Regions from separate parts of the Homo sapiens genome. Here all the other regions are linked to region 1. Evidence: promoter capture Hi-C in 16 types of primary human blood cells and fetal thymus (Javierre and others, 2016). All regions are on one chromosome and are shown on one strand. The core of a region is centred on a gene start or on the middle of the fragment in contact, and the rest is flanking DNA. Distances in the headings are between cores, read along the strand shown.

The links. Contacts are between HindIII fragments. The CHiCAGO score rates a contact against its expected background, and 5 or more counts as called.
Region 2: a fragment that was not itself captured here is called in contact with the fragment with the promoter of TGM3 in region 1 in 1 of 17 cell types (neutrophils); the score reaches 6.5 in neutrophils.
Region 3: a fragment that was not itself captured here is called in contact with the fragment with the promoter of TGM3 in region 1 in 2 of 17 cell types (neutrophils and monocytes); the score reaches 6.4 in neutrophils.
Region 4: a contact is called between a fragment that was not itself captured here and the fragment with the promoter of TGM3 in region 1, in 1 of 17 cell types (M1 macrophages). The highest score is 5.1, in M1 macrophages.

The regions. Positions count from the first base shown.
Region 1 is chr20:2,293,752-2,299,109 of GRCh38, reverse strand. TGM3 (transglutaminase 3) reads right to left here and starts at 3,109. Exons shown (of 13, transcript NM_003245.4): 1 at 3,040-3,109. The coding sequence starts at 3,046. LOC105372503 (a long non-coding RNA gene) reads left to right here. Exons shown (of 3, transcript XR_937203.3): 2 at 1,820-1,918; 3 at 2,616-3,289. RefSeq lists enhancers at 1,339-1,871, 1,872-2,405. The HindIII fragment of the contact is 7,559 bases long and covers 2,759-5,358 here.
Region 2 is chr20:1,803,207-1,808,564 of GRCh38, reverse strand. No RefSeq gene overlaps it. Among named protein-coding and RNA genes, the nearest start is that of SIRPA, 90 kb to the left of the region's middle. RefSeq lists a silencer at 4,944-5,193. The HindIII fragment of the contact is 3,012 bases long and covers 594-3,605 here.
Region 3 is chr20:1,840,942-1,846,299 of GRCh38, reverse strand. No RefSeq gene overlaps it. Among named protein-coding and RNA genes, the nearest start is that of SIRPA, 52 kb to the left of the region's middle. The HindIII fragment of the contact is 3,567 bases long and covers 1,520-5,086 here.
Region 4 is chr20:1,952,414-1,957,771 of GRCh38, reverse strand. All of the region lies in intron 2 of PDYN-AS1 (PDYN antisense RNA 1), which reads right to left. Among named protein-coding and RNA genes, the nearest start is that of PDYN-AS1, 7.9 kb to the right of the region's middle. RefSeq lists an enhancer at 3,170-3,259. The HindIII fragment of the contact is 815 bases long and covers 1,596-2,410 here.

The DNA of each region.
Region 1 (5,358 bases), core at 1,860-4,359:
GGGCAGAGTGGAGCCTTGATCCAGAGAGCACCTCTGAACCTGCACTCTTAACCCATCAGCTATCCTGTAAGGAATCCTACAGGAACAAACGCTGAAATACGGGCAGCTGTCATTCCCGGTGGAATGAAGCTGCTCATGGGCTGTCTCTAAGGAACAGGGAGTAGCCGCTGTCCCAGGTGGAAGAAGGCCATGGAGCCGGGCAGACAGGAGGCAGCTGGTCCTCATTTCAAACAATGAGCAGCTGGAGTCACAAGACTCTGAGCCCAGAGGGGCCATCTCCTTTTCAGAGAGAGAGAGAGTAGATATTGCCTTGGTCCCAGTGCCAGACACAAAAATATGAGGAGGGTCCAGGAAGCACCTAGAAGATTTACAGAAGAGAAGGAGGCCAGAACCCAAGAGCAATTCCTGACCGCTTCCATGGGAGGAGGGGCGACTGGTGTCCCAGCTCCAAGGAGAACGGTTTGGTGGTAGACCCAGACGCTGGGAATGGTACAGGTCCTTTGGGGGTGGAGGAAATGAGGCCTTGAGATGGGAAGTCCCTGAAGCCAAGGCCAGTGCTCTGCCTGGAAAAGTAGTTGGCAAGAAAGCTCACTGCCCCAGAGGGACAGAGCCATTAGTCCCCAAAACAGAGGTTCTGGTCATTTGCAGGCAGAAGCCTGTGGTTCAGGTGTGTACCCTGAGAACTCTGCCACTAACCCAGGGCTTCCAAGTGGCTTTGGGGATGGGGAATCTTGCCTCCCCTCCACACTGGGGCCCTCCTCTGTGCTCACAAACTGCTCTCCCACCCACTCTGGGGATGCCAGGCCACTTGGTGCGGATCACTGCCAGGCCTTCCTCCACTACCTTCATTTCCAGCCACAGCCCAGGCTGCCTTCTCCACCAAGGGGTGGAATAATGGAACCCCTTCTGATTGCAACAAGAACCTTAAATTAGGAGCTGGACACAGAGTCCTCTCAAAGCAGCACACCTGTCATCCCGATAGTCCCCTGGGTCACACCTGCTCACACTGACATTTATTTTCCTGTTCCCTCTGCCCTGCAAAACCTCTCCAGACCAAGTCCAACTCATTGTCTGTGACCATTTTTCAGAGTCTTCCCTATCCCAAATTCCAGACAAGACTAATCTCCTTCTCTTGTTGGTCCCCGTAGCACTTGTTTTGTATTTGTCATGCAGCTTAATAACAGTCTGCCTTGCATGCTGCTCACCTAAAAAACCGGTGGTACCAAAAAATATCAGACTAAAAGCTACCGAGGACAGAACCACATCTCATTCACCTCCATATTTCCCACTGCACCTGGCACAGCTCTTCTCCCTTAGGTGTTCAGTGAATAAATTCATTCATCCAAGAAACACTGATTGGGAACTTCCTGGCTGAGTGACTCGGAGCTGAGCTGGGAACTGCAAGTGGGACAAATTTAAGGGACTGAATGTATTCGCCTGTCTCTCCACCACCTTTTCAAAATTGATTTTCTCCCCACCAGCCTCATTCTGTTGTGACTTTAGAACATCTCTGGTTGTTAACAGAGACATTTAATCATGCCTCACAGCGGGCAGGCCATTCCTGAGAGTCCACGGGAGGTCCTGCACAGGGATGGGAGGTGCACATTCCTGGGGGCTGGGCACGTGCCTGTCCACTCCCTGGCTCTGGTTTCTTTTTGTGGAGAAAGAAAAGTCGGTACTGGAAGGAACCTCAAAACGCATTCATTTCAAAGCTTTCATCTTGAAAACTTGAGGCTCAGGGGTGGCAGAGAACACACAAGCAGTTGGTCACAAAGCTCAAATGAGAAGCCAGGTTCAGAATTGCTTTTTTATGTTCCAGATGTTATGTGCACTTATGTAGGAGCTCAGCTCTGGCAGCAGGACATGGTGGAAAGGGCACTGCTGAGACCTAGCTGGCTCTGCGATGGATTCACTGTGTGTAAGGTTCCACCCCTTCCTGGGCCTCAGCCACCTCCTGGAGGGAGGGAGATGGGCTAGATGACATCTGACCTCCCCTCTTGCTGCAGTGTGTAGGGTCCAGAGCTCCTCTTCTTAGCATCCCAGCCATGCTGTACATTACAGCAAGGAATGGGAGACAGGGGAGGGGGCCTAATGTGCAATCACCTGTCCCAGTTTTTGTGGCTTCTGAAGTAGCCAGCATTTGCCTGTTGCATTTGGCTCAGTGATGTCTTTGGCCAATCTTCCAGCAGCCCTAATCGCCATTCACAATATTTTACAAGTTTGACTCATATCTTGTTTGGATTTGGCGTCCCTGTCAACCTACTAGGCTGAGCACACAAGACAGATAATAATTAGCATGCTGCTTAGCAGGGGTGCTGATTAACAAAGGCCCATATCCTCGACAGTAAGCATAGAGTGGGGGAACCTGCACTTCCTGTTGTTCTTTGTAACCCCTGTTCCCTGGTGCTCTCCTGTGGACCAGGACATCTTGTGGCACACCTGCTCCTGCTACGGGGAGGCTTCAGCTCATCAAGTCACTTACACAGAGCCTGTCTGATGCTTCTGATGTGTAGCTTACTTAGGAGCATTCCTAATGCTCCTAAGTAAGTTGATTTGAAATAAACAATGGTTTCTTTCAAATCAACTTACATGTTACCACTCTCACTCCCTGGTAGTTCTGAGATGTGCTTCTTTGCTGACACTGCTGACAGCTGGATACAGCTACACTGAGAAACACGAGACCCGAGTCCTGTCTGCTTTGGCTTTACGGGTGGCGACGGATGTGTAAAAGAAACGCAAACACAAACAAGGCAAAGCTTGTCCTCTGCCTAAGGAGATGCGATGTCCAGCTGCACTGAACACCCTGCCCATTATTCAGAGCTACATTCCAATGATGTTCTACCCCAAGAATATGCTAGAGGGACCCAACCACCACTGAGAAAGAGCCGCCTCTGGCTAGCACCCTAAAATAGGAAGTCTGGCCTTCAGAGCCCCCAAGGCAGGCAGCTGTCCTGGCCGGACACTCTGGCTTGGCAGGCTGGCCCAGGGGAAGCACAGGCTTCTGGCAAGGACCTGATGGAGAAGATGCCATGCACTCACCAGCCATGTTTCGCCTTCCTCTGCCTCTTCTCAGGCTCCTCTGGGAATGGCACGGACAGTGCTGACAGACAGGCTGCCAAGGATTGCCTTACCATTTATAGAATCCTCTCCTACACACCCCAATTAGAATTCTAATGAAGTGGGCGAGGCACCAGGTCATTCCTGTAGTGCCTGTAAACGTTTCACTTACGACAGACTTGTCACCCAATGGACGTGCATCATGTTTGTACAAGACCAGCTTGGGGAGAAGGGGGCAGATAATAAAGAAACTCAAATAGTTCGCTTTTATAATTTTATAAAATGATGGACTATTTCCTGGATTGTAGGGTTTAGGAAATGATGACATGCTTTTCTTGCTGATCCTGGGAAGTTCTCTCTGAATCAAAGAAACGTCTCAGCAGAACCCAGAAGAAGAAAATTGTGAGGTCCTTTCTCATGATACACATGTATTAGCATCTTCCACTTGCACAGGGAAGTGAGACACATCACAGTTCATTTGTTTAGGGTTGTAGTGTGGCATAAACCATCATTTGATTTGGAATTAGAAGCCGTTGGTTCTGATGCTGGCCGAGCCCTGGGTGGTCTCCAACCCTTGAAGCCCGGAAGCCTTGCTTGTGGTTGGGGATAATCACTCCCACCCCTCTCAACTCACAAAGCTGTGGACACGATCACATGAGATGGTGCGCATGGGAAGTGTATGCATATCTACCAGGGCAGGTTAAACTGAGATCACACTTGGCGTTGAATGTCAGTTTCAGTCCAGATTTGGGGGAAAATTGTTGTTTTTAATGAGGCAGCAGGAACAGCCTCTAACCTTATGCTTCTGCCATGTCTTTCTCAGACTGCAGGTTCCGTCACTGACCCTCACTGGGCCCACCTTGACATCAGTTTAAAGAAAGGGTGTGGAGTGGGGAGAAGCTCTGACATTCTACGTGTTTTTGTTTGCTTGCTTGTTTCTAAGGGCGTATGTTTTTTCAAAGTTCCTATTATCGATATTTACAAATATCAAGGTTTACGATGGACAAAGGAGTGAGTATATATTTTTTAAAGTGAGGCTTCAAGGATTCACGAGAGAACAGAAATGCCCCAAGGCTTTCCCCAGCATCACAGTGTGGAAGGAAGATTGAGCACCATGATGACAAGGTTGGGTCTTTAGAGAGAAGTGAGAATGTTTGATCTCGAGAAAGAGAAGACGGAATAGGCAGGTGGCTTGGAAAATTGAAAAAGAGAAATCAGTGTCCTTTCTCCGTCCTTTAGGCCCCTACAGCCTTTTGTACATCTTAGAACCTCTATTACCGTATGTATCCACTGCACTGGAACTATCTGTTTATATATGTCCCCATCTCCAGACTGAGCTCCTTGAAGGTACAGGTTGCATATCATTCAAATCTTCTTCTCAGAATCTAGCACAGGGCTTGACACGTGGCTGGAACATGCACATTCTTGAATAAGTGAATCAATATCACTGTAAAGATGGGAATCATAACTACCGATTTAGTGCTTACTAATAATAACTAATTGATTTAGTGTTTACTGTGGGCAGGCACTGGCTAAACACTTTACATATATTAGCTTTTCTCATCTTCATAGCAACCCTATGCAAAGGGGCTATTATTATTTCCATCTTATGGGGGACAGAGAGATTAACCTGAGTCTCCAACCACGAGATTCATACCCATATGTAAATGGCTCCAGAGCCTGTGTTTGCTTAACCTTGGAGGTCAGCGCCTAAATGAGGCAGCCTTTCCCAGGCCTCTGGGGCTCTAAGACAGCTGGCTGTGCACCCATGCCAGGCAGAATGGGATGCACTGTTGGCTCTGGCAGATGACTAAGAAAAGAGCAGAGGGTAGAGAGGGACATGGAAAGAGCCTGGACCCAAGAGGAGACTCATGTGTGGTCTTGGCTCCTACCACGGGCACTAGCTGTGACTCTGGGCGAGGCCTCATGACGCCAAGTTCATCCTGCCAGAAAGCTGGAGGACAGCTCCATGAATGGCATGGGATGAATGGGTGTGAAAGTGCTCTGTATGCTTCTGTGTGTGGTCTAAAGGAAAGGAGGGGTTTTGCTTATTATTGTGGTTGTTGCTGTTGGCCTGGGAGCCAAGGAAAATCAGACCCCGGGCACTCCTTTCAATGACCTGACAAGGAAAGCTGCAGAGGTGACAGGGAGGTGGTGCTCCCCTTAAAAGGGAACCTGAAGACACACAGTCTTGGCTCTGCCAAGTCTCCTCACCTCTCGTAGGCTTTGTTTCCTCAACTGTAAAACTGAGTGGAATTGCTCTGAGAATCAAAGGAGACAGCAAGTGTAAAAGGTTCAGCA
Region 2 (5,358 bases), core at 850-3,349, 490 kb after region 1:
TGAAACTGGAGGCAGAAGTGATATGACTTATCCAAAGGTCCTTCAGCTAGTACGAGATGAAGCTGGGACACTCAAACACAGGTTTATCTGGTTTCAGAACCGGTGGTCTCACTGTGTCCCCCCAGCGGGGCATATAGAATATGTAAATGCTCACCCTGGGCCACTTCCTCTGCAAGACTGTGGGCAGGAGCCCCCACAAGAAGGTGCAGGGCACTCCCTGATCCTCCACAACCCCACTCCCTACCCCAGATCTTTCTGCCTTCCGAGGAGATAATGCCTAGTCTTCTAAATACTACTCAGATCCAGTGGGATTGTGCCCCTCGCCTGCTCTGCCCTGCAAAGGCCATTCCTATTCCTTGTCCTGTGTGGTCCTCAACATTTCAATTACTTAGCAAAGCAGGGATTATTTCCTCCCATTTGACAGATGCAGAAACTGAAATTCACCGAAAGGATGGAACCGTATTCTCCCCAGTCCTTACAAGGAGCATTTGGAGAAAGGCAAAACTGAACTTGAGGGGAACAGGGAGTCACTGCATGTCCTCGAACAGGGGTGAGGCAAAGGCAAGAAAGACCGGGGTCAGAACAGAGAAGCTTGGAGCTGGAGCAGAAAGGTGCCTCATTTAACTGGGCCTGTGCCCTGCTTAGCAATGTAGCCAGTTCTGCAAAGTCTCCTCCAGACTTGGGGTTCAGTCAGGGTGTAAAGGAAATAGAATGATATGAATTCCTGGTGCCAGTTTAATTTCATGAAATATGCCAGCATGGCCCTGGGGCTTGATGCAGTCTTCCCTACTGAAGGATCACAGCGGGAAGGGAGCATCTGCAGGCTCTTGGCTCACATTTGTCACCTGTAACCTTCACACACCAGGCACAAGTCTTGCCCATGCTCCGGGGCTGTCATCCATAAACAGTCCCTGAGCTTCACATGTGTGGGTTTCACAGCACAGCTCTGGAATCTGACAGTCGAGGGTTTGAATCTCAGCCTTGCACCTACTCTCTGTGTGGCCCGGAGCAAGTCATTTAACCTCTCTGGGTTTCTGCTTCCTCGTCTGTGATCCTCACTCAGTGGGATACTGCGGAGATCAAGTGAGATATGTTCATTTAGTGCTTGGCACAGTGCCTGGTGTGTGGCAAACCCCATTACTGTTTCACACAACACAAAATAATTCGGACACTTGCTGTTGGCATAGGAATGATTAAAAGATATACGGTATAGGAACATAACAAATAATAAAAAAGGAAAGATTATTTTGATGACAGAGTGGAAGATGTGTTAGGAAGGAGAAGACTGGTATAGAAACATCTCTGCTAGGAACAGTGTTTGGCTGTTGGTAGCAAAAACAACAACAACAACAACAAAACACCTAACCATGGAATAGATTTTAGTTGGTCCTCAATACCCATGCTCCCCTTCTTCCTTAGTCAACAAAATCCCTAATTTTCATCAGAATACATGGCTTGCCTCCTGCAATAAAGATTACAGTTTCCAGTTTCCCTTCCATATCCTAGGTATGCCCATGTAAGTTCTGGCCAATGGAAAATGTTGTGTGTGACTTCCAGAAAATGTCTTAAAAGGGAAGGTAAACACCTTCCTCCACCAGTCCTCCACACTTTCTGGAATTTGAGACATGATGACTACATCTCAAGCAGCTCGGACCATGTGATAATTTAAAGATGGCTGTGGATTCTTTGATCCTCCTCCCTTTGAGAGGAGTCAATTTCCCCTGTACTTAAATCTGGGCTGACCTGTGACTTCTTTGACCAATAGAGTATGGTGGAAATGATGTCACGCCCACTCCAGGCCTAACCTCTAGGAGGACTGGCAGTTTCTGCTATGGCCTCTGGGAGCCATGAGCTGCCATGAAAAAGGTCAAACTACTCTGCTGGAGACACCCACCTGGAGAAGCCCTGGGATTCCATGGAGAGGCAGACGGACCCAGCTGAGCTCAGTGTTCCAGCCATCCCCACGAAAGCACCAGGAACCTGAGTGAAACCATCTCGATCCTCCAGCATAGCACAATCAGCAGCTGAAGATCACTGAGTGACTCTAGTCGGCGCTCCATGGATCACTGAAGGATCACCCAGCTGAGCCCTGCGCAAATTTCTGACTCACAAAACTGTAGACGATACAATGGTTGTTGTTTGGGGGCAGTTTGTTATGCTGTAGCAATAAATAGCCAGAAGAGACCAAGAGGCAGAAGTTGTTTGCTGAAAATAATGCAAAAATTATACCAGCCCTTGCCCAGCTACCTCCGGATTTCTTGCTACATGAAAAAAAAAAAAAAAATCCCTATTTGTTTAAGCCTCGTTGACACCTTGGGCTATTGCTCAGTCCTCAGTTTTCCATTTGTTAAATGGAGCATTAGCTCCTGTCTTACTACTTCCCAAAGGTGCCTGAGAGGGTAGAGTAAGAATGAAGAAGAGAAGGCCTTTTTCATGTAATATAAACAGTGCTTATGTTCCCAAAGATCAGCGAGTGACATGCTCAAACAGTTATAATATATTTAATGTGGTCATAATGGGAGTGAACTTGTCATGAACCAATTGCAATGGATTTTGGAATCAGACACGTTAGGGCTTGAGGCTCTCAGCTCTGCTAGACAAACTTCTAACTTGACAAATAGGCCAGTCATTAAATCTCTCCAAGCCTTAGTTCCCTCATCAATAAAGCACAGACGATGTGATTTCCCTCCGTTGAGTCTGTGTGAGGATTAAATTAAATGAGATTCATCCATCTATTTGATAAATATTGAATATCTCCTAGGGTCTAGGCCAAACACACTCTTGATATTGGTGGAGGCTGGTGTCCACTCACCCTTAAATCTAAATATTTAAAAATTATAAATCAGACCAATACCTTCTCTTAAATGTTCTATCCTTCTCCTCAGTAAGTATAACTTCTCAGCAGCCTGAAAGGCCAGGATTGATTTGGATTTCTTAGATACTCGCACTGAAATGTGGCGGTGCTGGGGAGAGCCAGCCCCATTCCCTGGTCGCTCATTTCCCAGCCTATAAACTGCCACCTTCCCTTCTCATCCCCAGCTCCATCCTGTACCGTGCACACCTCACCTGCATGTGTGTAGACATCCCAGGCTGCAGGTCCAATCTCCATCCACACCCTATCCTCTGCAGTGCCCCTTGGCTACACCCTGGGCTTAGTGTTCTGCCTCCAGACAATAGACCAGGAAGAGGCCTGGCAGCAGGCTTGGGACTTTTAGGTAGGGAGCTCAGGAATCCTAGGAATCTGTAGTATTCTAGACAAGGAGCAAAGACTTGGATGGGTATATCCCCTTGGCACTGCAGACTCTCTAGCCTGTGGGGATGTACGCAGCTGGAGGCTGGCCAGGGCAGAGCCCCGCTTGCCTGGGTCCAAGGATGGGCTGGTCAGCCTGTGCTAGGTGCTGCAGGTACATGAGTAGATGAAGCAGATACCACCCCTGCTTCTCCTACTCAAAGGTGAAGACACATCCCTGAAGTCAGGGCCTCAGTCTTAGCCCTATCTATAAGATGAGGGCTTACCTGATCTGACATCAGGTAATGTTGGAGACTTGGTGTACGTCCTCAGGAATGTCCTAGAAGCCAGGAGGTCAGATGAGGAGGGGCAAGCTTAAGGCCTAAGCAATCAACTTCCTCCTTGAACCTAAGGCTGGCAAGGCAGGAAGGGCACCCACCCTCTGGTCCAACTCCATCCACGCAACTCCTTCAGTGGCCATAACAACACAACTTCCCATCACACCTAGAATAAAAGTCCAGCTCCTTGCCGAGACCTGCAAAGCCTGCTACCCCCAGCTGCTGACCATCTCCAGTCTCCTTACTACTGCTCACTGAGTTCCATCCTTATGTTCATGAAACCCCACATCTACTCTCCCACCTCAAGGCCTTTGCCCTTGCTGTTTTCTCTGCTGGACACGCCCAGCTCTTTGCATGGCTAGTTCCTCTCACTGTGCAGGCCTCAGCTTACTCTCTTGCACAGAGACGTCCATTGACATCCTTTTAGGAGCAGCTCCTGTCTAGCCCCAGCTCTCTCTTGGGCGTGTCACCACTTTACATCCTTCCTAGTACAGCCAAAACTGGTGTAATGGAGTGTGCAAAAGCTTCCACTTGGGGCTGGACTGGCTGGGTCGAAACCCAGGCTGGGCCCAATATTCTCAAGTGCCGAGCCTACCTACTGCGCACTTGAGGCTATTGTTCAACCTGGTTCCCCACATATCGTGCAACCTGTTGTTTCTCCACCTATCGTGCAACCTGTTTCTCCACATATTGTTCAACTTCCTATTTCCCTTCAATAGATTATTCAACCAGCATTTTCCTATCTGTACAAGGGAGTGAGGATTACATGACCTAATGTGCATATAGCATAGAGCAGAGCCTGGCATAAGCGCTGCATTGGTGTTTGCTACGATATTAACACTTGTTGCTATTTGAAATTATTTTGTCTGTATGTTTCTTGTTTATTTCCCTCTTCTCTCTGACAGGCAAACTCCCCACAACAGCCTCCTCAACGCTGCCTCCCACAGTGCTTGGACAAAATAATTACAGCAAGATGCGGGCACTGAGCTGACTCCTTATGTAGGACATCCCAGTGCAGGTAGAGAAACTGAGGGACAGTTGGAGGTTCCTTGCCCTTGGTGATGCGGTGAGAGGGCCTGCAGGCACCAGCCCGGCCGCCCGCACCGCTTCTCGCGGACCCCAGCGGAGCCGCGCTTCTCGTGCCGCTCCTGAGGGTTTCCGCGGCGCCGGCGTTTTTGTTCCCGGCGCGTTTAAGTCGTTGAGGCCGAATCAAGCGAAGGCGGAAAAGCGGCGCGCAGCCCGCGTCAGCTGCAGTTCCGTCCCCCTGGTTCCCGGTGCGCTAACAAAGGCATTTGCATGAAAACAGGAACCCCGTCTGCAGAAAGGACTCGTTGGCGGGGTGCATCGTGCGCTCCAGTGCCCCTACCGCGGCGCCCCGCTCCCCAGGTGGGGAAGAAGCGGGGTGCGGGGACTGGCCCCAAACACGGCTCGGCCGGCGGGGACCGGCACGCTGCGGCCCGGGCGACCCCCTTCTCCGCCCCTTTCCCAGGCCGGCGGAAACGGCCGTCTCGGGCGTGGGCGCGCTTCTGCGGACTCCTCGGGACCTTTTACCCAGGCGTGCGGCCGGGGCGCCCGGGGCCTCGGGGAGCCGGCGCCAGCGTGCGGAGCGCAGCGGAGCGGAGGGAGCGGCGGGAGCGGCGTCCGTGGCTGGTCCAGGTCTGGGGCGCAGCCTCCAGGCTCGCCCTGCGCCGCTCTGGGCCTCGGCCTCTTCGCCTGTTCGACCGGGGCGCAAGCGTGTCACAGCGCCTGTCTGCAGGGGGAAGCGGGCTTCCCAGAGGGGCGCGTGGCTCG
Region 3 (5,358 bases), core at 2,054-4,553, 450 kb after region 1:
TAAACAATTCGCTTCTCTGTGCCTCAGTTTCCAAACCCATGAAGTGGGGACAATGGAAGGACCTATCTCAGGGAAATGGCATGAGGATTGGCAAGTTAGACCATGTATCAATACAGAACCAATACAGTGCCTGCCTCTCAGCCAGTCCTTAGTAAGTGTTAGCCATCATTAACAGTGACAGCTATGATGTGGGGACACAAAGGTGGCTCAGGCCTGACTCTGCTCTCTTGGATCCCCCAATCCCGAGGGGCATCAGGCGTGTAAACCCAATCCCTGTGATCAGGGATAGAGATGGCACAGGCCGGGGACAGCCTGGAAGAGGGGCACTTCCTTTGCCTGCCTGTCTAGCCACTTGGCCGATCAGAGGGACAAAGTCACTGGGCTGTGAAAAGTCCAGCTGGCCAGGCCATGGCAGGAGCCCCCTCCTGCTGGCCCTTCCTCCAGTCCCCACCCCAGCCAGCCACATTTGCTCTTGTCAGGCAGAGGAGGCTGGGCACTGCACATGCGGGGCTAAGACTGAGGTTGTGCACACAGAGACGTAGGTAAGGTGTGAACTTAGGCATGCCAACTTGCATGCTACGAGGCATATCAGCTGGGGCAAGTGTGCTCAGTCAGCCAGATAGACCCAGACAGACACATGCACGCAGAAAGAGCCCTAACATCACAACGGCTCACACATGGCTCCTAGTATGTGCCAGGCATCAATCCGAGCATTCCACATATATTCATTTGTTTGATCCTCACAACAACCTTATAAGGTATGTTTTATTAATATGCCCATTTTACTGATAAGGAAAGTGAAGCAGAGAGGGGGTTGAGTAATTTGCTCAAGGTCATACCCAGTAAGTGGCAGACCTAGATTCCAACCCAGGGAGTCAGGCTACAGAGACAGAACTCTTAACAGCTGTGCAGATCCATGAAACACATGCACAATGACACACACTCATTTTGGACATGCAGACATGGATACATGCCTCCTGATGAACATGGATACCTTCCCAGGTATGTATAAACACAAAGACAAGACGATGTATAAACACAAAGGGATGTATAAACACAAAGACAAGGGATGTATAAACACAGAGATGTATAAACACAAAGACAAGATGAAGATGCCCATGCACACTTGCATTCACACAGTTGGGGAGGGCTAAGTAAACCACTGTTTAACTTGTGGGCAGCAGACTCAAGACCCCTATGCAGCCATAAACACTCAGGCAGACACACTCAGAGGTAGGAATGCACATGCTGTGTGTACACGTGCTAAGACTCCTTCCACAACCAACACACAGAGAAACGGAAAACAGCAATCACGATGGATTCTTATAGTATCTGCTCAGGCTCTTAGCTGACTTCTCAGTTTCCCTTCCTCTCTACGGCAGCAGCAGCCCCAGAAGGGTGGGGGCTTCCCCCATGTGATTCCCCAACGTGTTTGGCGCAATGCCTGGTAATAACATACGCTCACCCTTTCTGGCTTTCCTCACTAGAAAGAGTGTCAGGCCCTTTGCAGTTAAAAGCTTCACTTTACAGTCAGACAGGCCCAAGATATTGCTCTCAGCTGCCCTACTTGTGAGGCAAGGGATTTCACCATTCCAAGCCCACCACTCTCCCCCTAGAACGTGTCCTAGCCACGGTGGCCATTGCTCCTGTACACCAGGGATGTGCCCACCTCAGGGACTTTGCACTTGCCTTTGCCTGGATAAATCCCTGGCTAAGTACGTTTTGTGTTGCTATAGCACTATACCACAGAATGGGTAATTTATAAAGAATGGAAATTTTCTTTGGCTCATGGGTTGGAGGCTGGGAAGTCCAAAATCCAGGGGGGCTGCATCTGGTAAGGGCCTTCTTGCTCCATCATCCCATGGCAGAAGGTGGAAGGACAAAGGGGTTGGGAAAGAAAGAGAGAGAAGAAGGGAGTCATACTCATCCTTTTATTAGGAATGCACTCTCTCTTTCTTTTCTTTTCTTGTCTTTTTTTTTTTTGGAGATAGAGTCTCACTCGGCCGCCCAGGCTGGAATGCAGTGGTGCAATCTCGCTCACTGCAACCTCCACTTTCCAGGTTCAAGTGATTCTTCTGCCTCAGCCTCCTGGGATTATAGGCACCTGACACCACATCCAGCTAATTTTTGTATTTTTAGTAGAGACAGAATTTTGCCATGTTTGGCCAGGCTGGTCTTAAACTCCTGACCTCAGGTGATCCGCCTGCCTCAGCTTCCCAAAGTGCTGAAATTACAGATGTGAGCCACCACGCCTGGCCTAGGAACCCACTCTGTCAGTAACCCACTCCTGTGATAACAGCGTCAATTCATTCATGAAGGCAGAGTCCTCATGACCTGATCATGTCTTTAAAGTGCCCCTCTTAACACTGTTGCATTGAGGATTATGTTTCCAACACATGAGCTTTAGGGGACACAGTAAAATCAGAGCACCCCTTCACCTCCTTTAGGTCTTAAATGTCACCTTCCCAGTGAGGGCTTTCCTGGTGTCGCTGTTAAATTGCAAACCTCCACTCACCTCCCTTGCTCTCTCTACTCTCGCCCCTTCACTCTGTACACTTCTCCATTCTGTTCCCTGCCCCAACAGACTTGTTTTAATTATTTATTTATTGTTCATCTGCCCCACTGAAGTGTAAGCTCCATGAGAGCAGGATTGCTTCTTCACTCTGGTGTCTCCCGAGCCCAGAACCATGCCTGGTGTGTAGCAGGAGCTCGGTGACTCTGGGGAATGCAGAATGCGCTTCGCTTCATAGAAGGGTAGGAGTAACAACGCCCTTGCAGGGTAGTTGGGAGGCTGGGGAGAATCACTCATAGACGCTACATGGGACATAGCATCACCTCAGAGCTCTTTTTTAAAACTCACATACCTATGATCTGCATGGTAAGAGTTGCATGCAGCAGCTGAGTGAACTCAGTGAACCCTGAAAGGGCCCCTTGACAGCCACTCCCCCATCCTCTTTGCCCACCCTCCTCCCCGGTTCACCACTGTATGTTGGTGGACATGTTTCCAGGCCTTTCCCATATATTTACATCTGCACAGATATAACATGTGTGTCATAGGTATGCATCATACATCAATAAGATCATTCTCCATTTATTTGATAACTATTCATTGAGCACCTACTATGTGCCAGGCATTGTTGTGAGGCATGAAAAAGTGAGATTCCTACCCTCCAGAGCTGACACTCTAACAGAGTAGCCAGCAGACAAAGCTAAAGTATTCTTCCAGGTAGTGATATTAATACATGTTATGAAAGACATACATTTAGGTAAAGGGATAGAGGAGGATAGGAGTGGGGTTGTGGGGGGGTGCTTTCAGTCCAGGGGGTCAAGGAAATGTCTCCTCTGAGGAGACATTTGACTTGAGCTTGGAGGATGGGGAGGAACAAGCCCTGCAGATATCCAGGACAGATTCTTGGTAGAGAGGACATTGGGTGCCAAGGCCCCAAGCATGGCATGAAATTAGTGGGTTGGAGAACGAGTGAACAAGCCAGCAGGGCTGGAGCAAAGTGAGCGAGGGGAGGGGCAGGAGATGGGTCAGGGAGGCGCAGTGCAGAACATATGGGGTGGCATGGGGAATGCAGGTTGGGGCATACAACCAGAGCCTCAGGAAGATGGAGCAGAGGAGAGGACTGAGCTAGGATTGGTTTCATTGGGGTTTTTTGGTGCAATTTTTTTTATTGTGGTAGAATATACACAGCATAAAACTGGCCATTTTAACTATTTTTAAGTGTACAGCTCAGTGGCATTAAGCACATTCATATCACTGTGCAATCGTTACCATCATCCGCATGCAGAGCTGTTTTATCTTTCAAAACCGAAACTGCACCCATTCAACACGAATTCCCCCGTCCCCCAGCCCCATTCTACTTTGCGTTGCTATGGATTTGACTACTCAAGATGAATCATATAAGTGGAATCATGCAGTATTTATCTTTTTGTGTCTGGCTTATTTCCCTTAGCATAATATCCTTGAGTTTCATCCATGCTGTACCGTGTGACAAAATTTCTTTCCTTTTTAAGGCTGAATAATATTCCATTATATGTATATACCACACTTTGCTTATCCATTTATTCATCTGCCAGTGGACACTTGGGTTGCGTCCTCCTTTCGGCTATTGTGAATGATGCTGCTATGAAGATGGGTGTGCGGATACTTATTTGAGACGCTGCTTTCAGTTCTTTTGGGTATAGAGCCAGATGTGGAATTGCTGGGTCCCATGGGAATTCTTTGACCTGGTATTTTATGTAACAGAATCCAGGGGCTACCAGGGGAGAACAGCCACCACGGAAGGGCAGAAGCTGGGAGGCCAGCCAGGCAGCAGTTGTTGCAAGGCGCCTTGTCTTACGTAACAACCCATCCTGCAGATCCCTCCAGGGTGGCACAGGGAGTTCTGCCTGTCTCTTTAATGATTCAGGGCACTTTCACTTTCATCCTTTATTTGGGTTCATCCCAGCTCTGGAAGTCAGGTGGGAAAAGGCCTATGATCCCCTTGGAGAGACAGGGACAAAGGGGCTCAGGGAGGGAGAGTGTCTCAGCCAATGTCACTGGGCTCTAGGACGTCCTCTAGGACGTCCTTCAACCCTGGGCCTGCCTTGGGACTGACTCTGGGGGTAGATGACTCCCCTGTGAGTCTCCCTTCTATTCCCTACTCCTGCCAGGCAAGGCTGGGCAGCTGGAGAGAGCTCACAGCCAGAGCCTCTCTGCCAAGACATTAATGAGCCTGAAATCCAACTCAGGGTATCCCTGGGACCTGGAGAGTGAGAAGGAGGCAGCACCCTAATTAGCCACCATTCTTCTCACCTGCAGCTTAGGTAGCCCACCCCGACAGCACTGCCTGAGGCTGGGGGTGTCTCCCAGCAGGCTTAGGAGCCCTGAAACTGGCTGCTATTGGCTGTGTGTCCTCTTTCTGTGCCTCAGGCCCAGGAATGCATCCTGAGGAGGACAGTGAGAATTCCATCAGAGCCACAGGAAGTCACACCCCACCCGGGCTGGGGTCTGACCTGGGTTCAGGCAAATCTCAGGGCCCTGCCTCTCCTGGGATCAGTTCCTCCCTTTTTAAACTTTCACTTTTTGGCTGATGAAGCTTTGTGGGATGAAAGGAGGAATGGGAGATGCTGCTTCCTTGGGTCGGGGGAGCAGGATGGAGAAGGGGCCAGGCCCTGTCTCGCTGGTTTCCCTCCCTCCTATAGGCATCCAGGTCCCAGTCTCTTCTGCCCATTCAGCCCCTTCCTCCTTCCCTTCCTTCCCTGCATGATCTGTCCCGCCCCCACCAGCTTAGTCAGCTCAGCCACAGGGACCTCCTTGCTTTCTTCAAACAAACCAGGAGTGGGCCTGCCTCCGGGCCTTTGCACTCACTG
Region 4 (5,358 bases), core at 754-3,253, 340 kb after region 1:
GGCAACCAGGATCTATTGGTCTAAGCCATCCTAATTCCTCTACTAAATTTTTTTTTCAAAAATACTGGATGCACCAAACAAGACCTTCTATATGCCATATTTGGCCCTTGGGCTGCAATTGTGAGAATCCTGGAAACAGGAAACTTTACTTGTTTCCAGGTATTTTTTACCTGTCATTTTAACTAGTTTAAGCCTAAAAATAGTCTTTGCATATTACTGTCCAAAGCTAGGAGTTGAAAGAAACAGGATTTGAACCCAGGTCCTCTCTGACTTCAAAGATACCATCATTTCCTTCATTAGATTCCTACCCCATTGTTTTCATTTGCACTGTTATATTTCACATTATTTTGTGTGTATTCTCCCACCCCACCACCCTGCACTTTGAGACTTCCTTGTCTTTGCATCCTCTAAGTTTAGCAGAGGGCCTGACCTGTAAGAGATGTTGAGAGAATTTTTGTGGAACAAATAACTTCTCTCCTTCTGTTTGCTCTCTTAATGTTTCATCCTCCTCTAGTCCACACCCATCTATTAAATGGGAGGTATGTTACCAGCAGCACAGGTGGGATTTAAATCAAGCAGCTGCTACCTGTGAGATGATGCCTCTGCTACTACAAGAGACCTGCCAAGACACAGAGTTCATTCATTGAGGAGAAAAGGGCTGGTTAACATTCTGTAAACACAAGCTTTGAGGGATTTTAAAAAATATTTAAAGTCCTGAGATATTGAAGCTGGGACATCCAACTTCAGTAGTCATCAAAGAAATTCAAATTAACAAACAAAGTATTGGCATAATTTTAAAAAACCAATAACATGGGATATTAATAAGAATATAAGGAAAAGATGACCTCATATACTGCTGGTAGCATTATAAATCAGTATAATTTTTCTGGAAGGCCATTTAGCAAAACATATCAAAAGTTTTAAATATGCTCATGTAATTTTTCTCAGCAATTTCACATTTAGCACATTATATCCTAAGGAAATAAGCAGACAGGTGCACTGTGATTTATCCATGAGAATGCTCATTGCAGCACTGTTTAGTTGAAGACTGTGGACTAGATAAATACATCACTATGAAGGATAAGCCCACAGCCTTTGAAAGCAAATACATTGAAGAATAATGACTTGAAAAATGTTTTTGAACAATTGTTAAGAAATCTTGATTAAACAATTATATGCATATTCATCATAATTAATACTTCTTGTGTGCTTTACTAATTAACTCATATAATCCTTATAATAATAATAATCTTATGAGGCAGGTACTGTCCTTGTGGACTCAGAAGTTGCATCATGGAGAGGCAGCCTAACTTCCCTGTGGGCAGGTAGTGGGTGGCAGAGCTGGATTCCAACTACTGGTGCTCAGGAAATCTTAGAACACTGAGTCCAGTGCTTCCCAAGGTGTGGTCCCTGGACCAGCAGCCCCACATCACCTGGAACTTGTTAGAAGTGCCAAATCCCAGGCCTGGTCCCAGACCTCCTGATCAAAAGCTCTGGGGGTGGGGCCCAGCAATCTATGTTTGAGCAACCCTTCCAGGTGAATGTATGCTCAGTTTTGAGAGCCACTGTGCAATTGTAAGGGCCGAAGGGAAGCTTCTCCTCTGTCCTCTTAAGGTTTGCTGAAAACGAACTATAATAGACAGATTAGTAAAAGAAAAAGGCATATGAAATTGTATTTAACAAGGCCAGGCATGGTGGCTCATGCCTGTAATTCCACACTTTGGGAGGCCATGGTGAGAGGATCACTTGAAGCCGGAAGTTTGAGACTACCCTGGGTAACAAAACAAGATCCTGTCTCTACAAAAAATTTTTTTAAAAAATTAGCCAGGCATGGTGATATGTGTCCACAGTCCCAGCTACTTGGTAATCAGAGGCAGGAGGATCACTTGAACCCAGGAGTTTGAGGCTGCAGTTGAGCTATGATTGTGCCACTGCACTCCAGCCCAGGCAACAGAAGAACATCTTGCCTCTCAAAAAATAATAATAATAATAAAATAAATTATTTAATGTGAGTAACACAGGGGAATTATAGGAGAATGATTACCCAATAACCCTTATATGCCCTTCTTCATCGGGGAAGGGGAAATGGGAGGTATAGGAGTAAGTGACTTTTTAGGGGAAATGAGTGATCCTAAAGAACAACTGCCTGAGACAAAATTCTTCTGAGCTCTGGGGGAGGTGGCGGGAAGGTAAGGGGCAGACCTTCACTGTAAACAAAGATTGTCTTACTATGCAGATGAAGCGTCCCAGGTGATCTCTAGGAGCTGCTCTCAGAAAAACAAATGAAAGTCTGTCTGAGCACGGTGACTACATCTAGTCTCTTTTCCAGTGGTTAATCTTTCCTGGTTATTTGATGAGATTCCTAGGGACGGGGAGTTTTAAGAAATTGCATTTCTCTTGGAAAGAAGCTTTCTTAGGCAGATAAGAAAATTCCAGCGACAGCCCCTCCTGGTGCTTTGGGAAAGTAAGAGGATCAGAGAGACAGGGAGGCAGGGCAAGGTCAGAAAGAGACCTTGAAACCGCTTCTTCAGTTCAGCACGTCAAAGCGCCAGATTCTGGGGTATTATTTTCTGAGCCTGAATACAACACTATTGCATCTTTTCTCGAAATTTTGTAAAAAGAAAGTATATGTATGTATAAAAAAGTCTGATGGATTGGTCATTAAAATATTAACAGTGTCACTTCTGAATGGTGGGGTTCTGGGTGATTTTTTTATATATATTTTTTTGTTTTATAATTCCAAAAGGTACATAATGAACTTCTGCATCCAAAGTAAAAGAAAAAAATACATGTTCTTTAAAAAAAAAAAAAAAAGAAGAAGGGGCCAGGCACAGAGGCTCACGCCTGTTATCCCAGCACTTTTTGGGAGGCCAAGGTGGGTGAATCACTTGAGGTCAGGGGTTCAAGACCAGCCTGGCCAACATGGTGAAACCCCATCTCTATTAAAAATACAAAATTTAGCCAGGTGTGGTGGCACAGGCTTGTAATCCCAGCTACTTGGAAGGCTGAGGTGGGAGGATCGCTTGAACCAGGGAGGTGGAAACTACAGTGAGCTGAGATTGCACCACTGCACTCCCCTGGGAGACACAGTGAGGCTCTGTCTCAAAAAAAAAAAAAAAAAAAAGGAACTCCGCTTCAATACTCAGTGAGATGGTATATATTTTGGGTAGAAGGGAAGTAGAGAAGAAAATGGTTCCCCTAAATCATACAGCAACTCCAGCAGTTCTTCTTCAGTGTGAATGAATCACCAGGGGGTCTTGTGAAAATGCAGACTTGGCCGGGTGCGGAGGCTCACGCCTGTGATCCCAGCACTTTGGGAGGCCGAGGCGGGCGGATCACGAGGTCAGGAGATCGAGACCACGGTGAAACCCCGTCTCTACTAAAAATACAAAAAAATCAGCCGGGCGTGGTGGTGGGCGCCTGTAGTCCCAGCTACTCGGGAGGCTGAGGCAGGAGAATGGCATGAACCCAGGAGTCGGAGCTTGCGGTGAGCCGAGATCGCGCCACTGCACTCCAGCCTGGGCGACAGAGCGAGACTCCCTCTCAAAAAAAAAAAAAAAAAAAAAAAAAGAAAGAAAAAAAAAGAAAATGCAGACTCAGTGAGGCTTGCGGCTAAGATGCTGCACTCCCAACCAGCTCCCAGAGGATGCTGAAGATGCTGGTCTAGAGTCCACACTTTAAGAAACAAGAGACCAGAGAGACGGAGGCTCTTAATCTCCAGAATGCAAGCTTCACGAGGGGCCTGGTCCCATGATGTGTTTCCAGTGCTGAGAACGGAGCAAAGAATAGTTATCTAATAAATAGATGGAGGTGCGGCAAGCCTCCTCATTCCTGGGGACCCAGAAATGGGGGTTCTGGTCATGGTTCTGTATCTGCTGCCAGTAATACCTTTGGCAAGCTGCGGCCTCCCTGTGATGACAACTGTCACTGGGCAGGGTGACAGCTCTGGACCCTTCTTTCCCATGACCCAATATGCAAGACCGGTTCAGCCTGGGCCAGGGCTACCCAACATGTCAGTCTTGCACCAAACAAAAAGTACCAGGAACTTGGTAACACAGGTGTTCTGAGAAGCCCAAAGAAAGGAACTAGAGATGAAGAAATATCTAAGTTGAGGTTTCCGTAGAAACATTAACTCATCTGCATAGGCTGCATGCTGCATTTGGATTACAGGTTAGGCTCGTAAGCCTGAAATAAATTATATACTCTTCGTATTATTCAACACTGTACTGTATAATAATAAATTATACAGTTATAGGCCTCAGCCCAAGTTATAACAAATTATACCACAGTGTATAATTACCCTGCACTGCACCATATAATAATAAATTAGACAGCTACAAACCTAAGTTGTGACTCCAGAAAGAGGAGAATGAATGGGGGCTACTGATCCATTCCTCTGACCAGTCAGATAAGCCCGGAGCCTGAGAATGAAGAATTTAATTGCTTATTCCTTCCTTCCTCCCTCCCTCTCTTCCTTCCTTCCTCCTTCCCTCCCTCTCTCTTTTCCTTCCTTCCTCCCTCCCTCCCTTCCTTCCTTCCCCTCTTATTCCTTCCTCCTTCTCTCTCTCCCTCCCTCCCTTCCTTCTTCTTTTCCTTCCTTCCTTCCTTCCTTCCTTCCTTCCTTCCTTCCTTCCTTCCTTCCTTCCTTCCTTTCCTTCCTCCCTCCCTCCCTCCATCCCCCTCTCATATTTGAGTGCCTCCCTGGTTTTTGGTGTAGACTTGACCATGGGAGCCTGAGCTGACTTGGAACGAGTCCCCATCTTTGAGGGCTCCCAGGCTGTGGGGTGAAGAGCATGTAAACTGAAAATGAAACAGTGTAACAACAGCTGCTGTGGAAAGAGTAAATTAATCACAGCGGCCTTGGTATCAGGTGTCTACCAGGTAGCAGGCATCAGCACAGGTGTTAACTCCTCATGCCCTGGGGGTAGGTATCATCGTCTCCATTTGACAGGTGAAGCGAGCAGAGCTAACACAAAATGTGACTCGCTTAAGGTCACACAACTATTATAGAAATGGTGGGTGGGAATTTTCACCCAGGACTGTCTATCTGACGGTTAGATTTCTCTGAGGGTGCTACCCAGTCGAGTCAGCTTGGAAAGCAAAAATCAAGTGTCATGAAAAGTACCCCTGGCAAATCCTCAGAGACACTAGGTTGGGGACTGATATTCAGTCTCCTAGTGAGTCCAGCACAGTTGGGGTTCCCTGCAGCCCAGGAGCAGGTTCCTCTTCCTTCCACAGAGGGTACTGGCTGGGGTAATACTGGACCATAATATAATCTAGTGCCAGTGTGGATTAGGAGCTACTGTGAGGACTTCACAGGTGTTAAGCTCATTTTATCCTCTCAACAACCTTATGAGG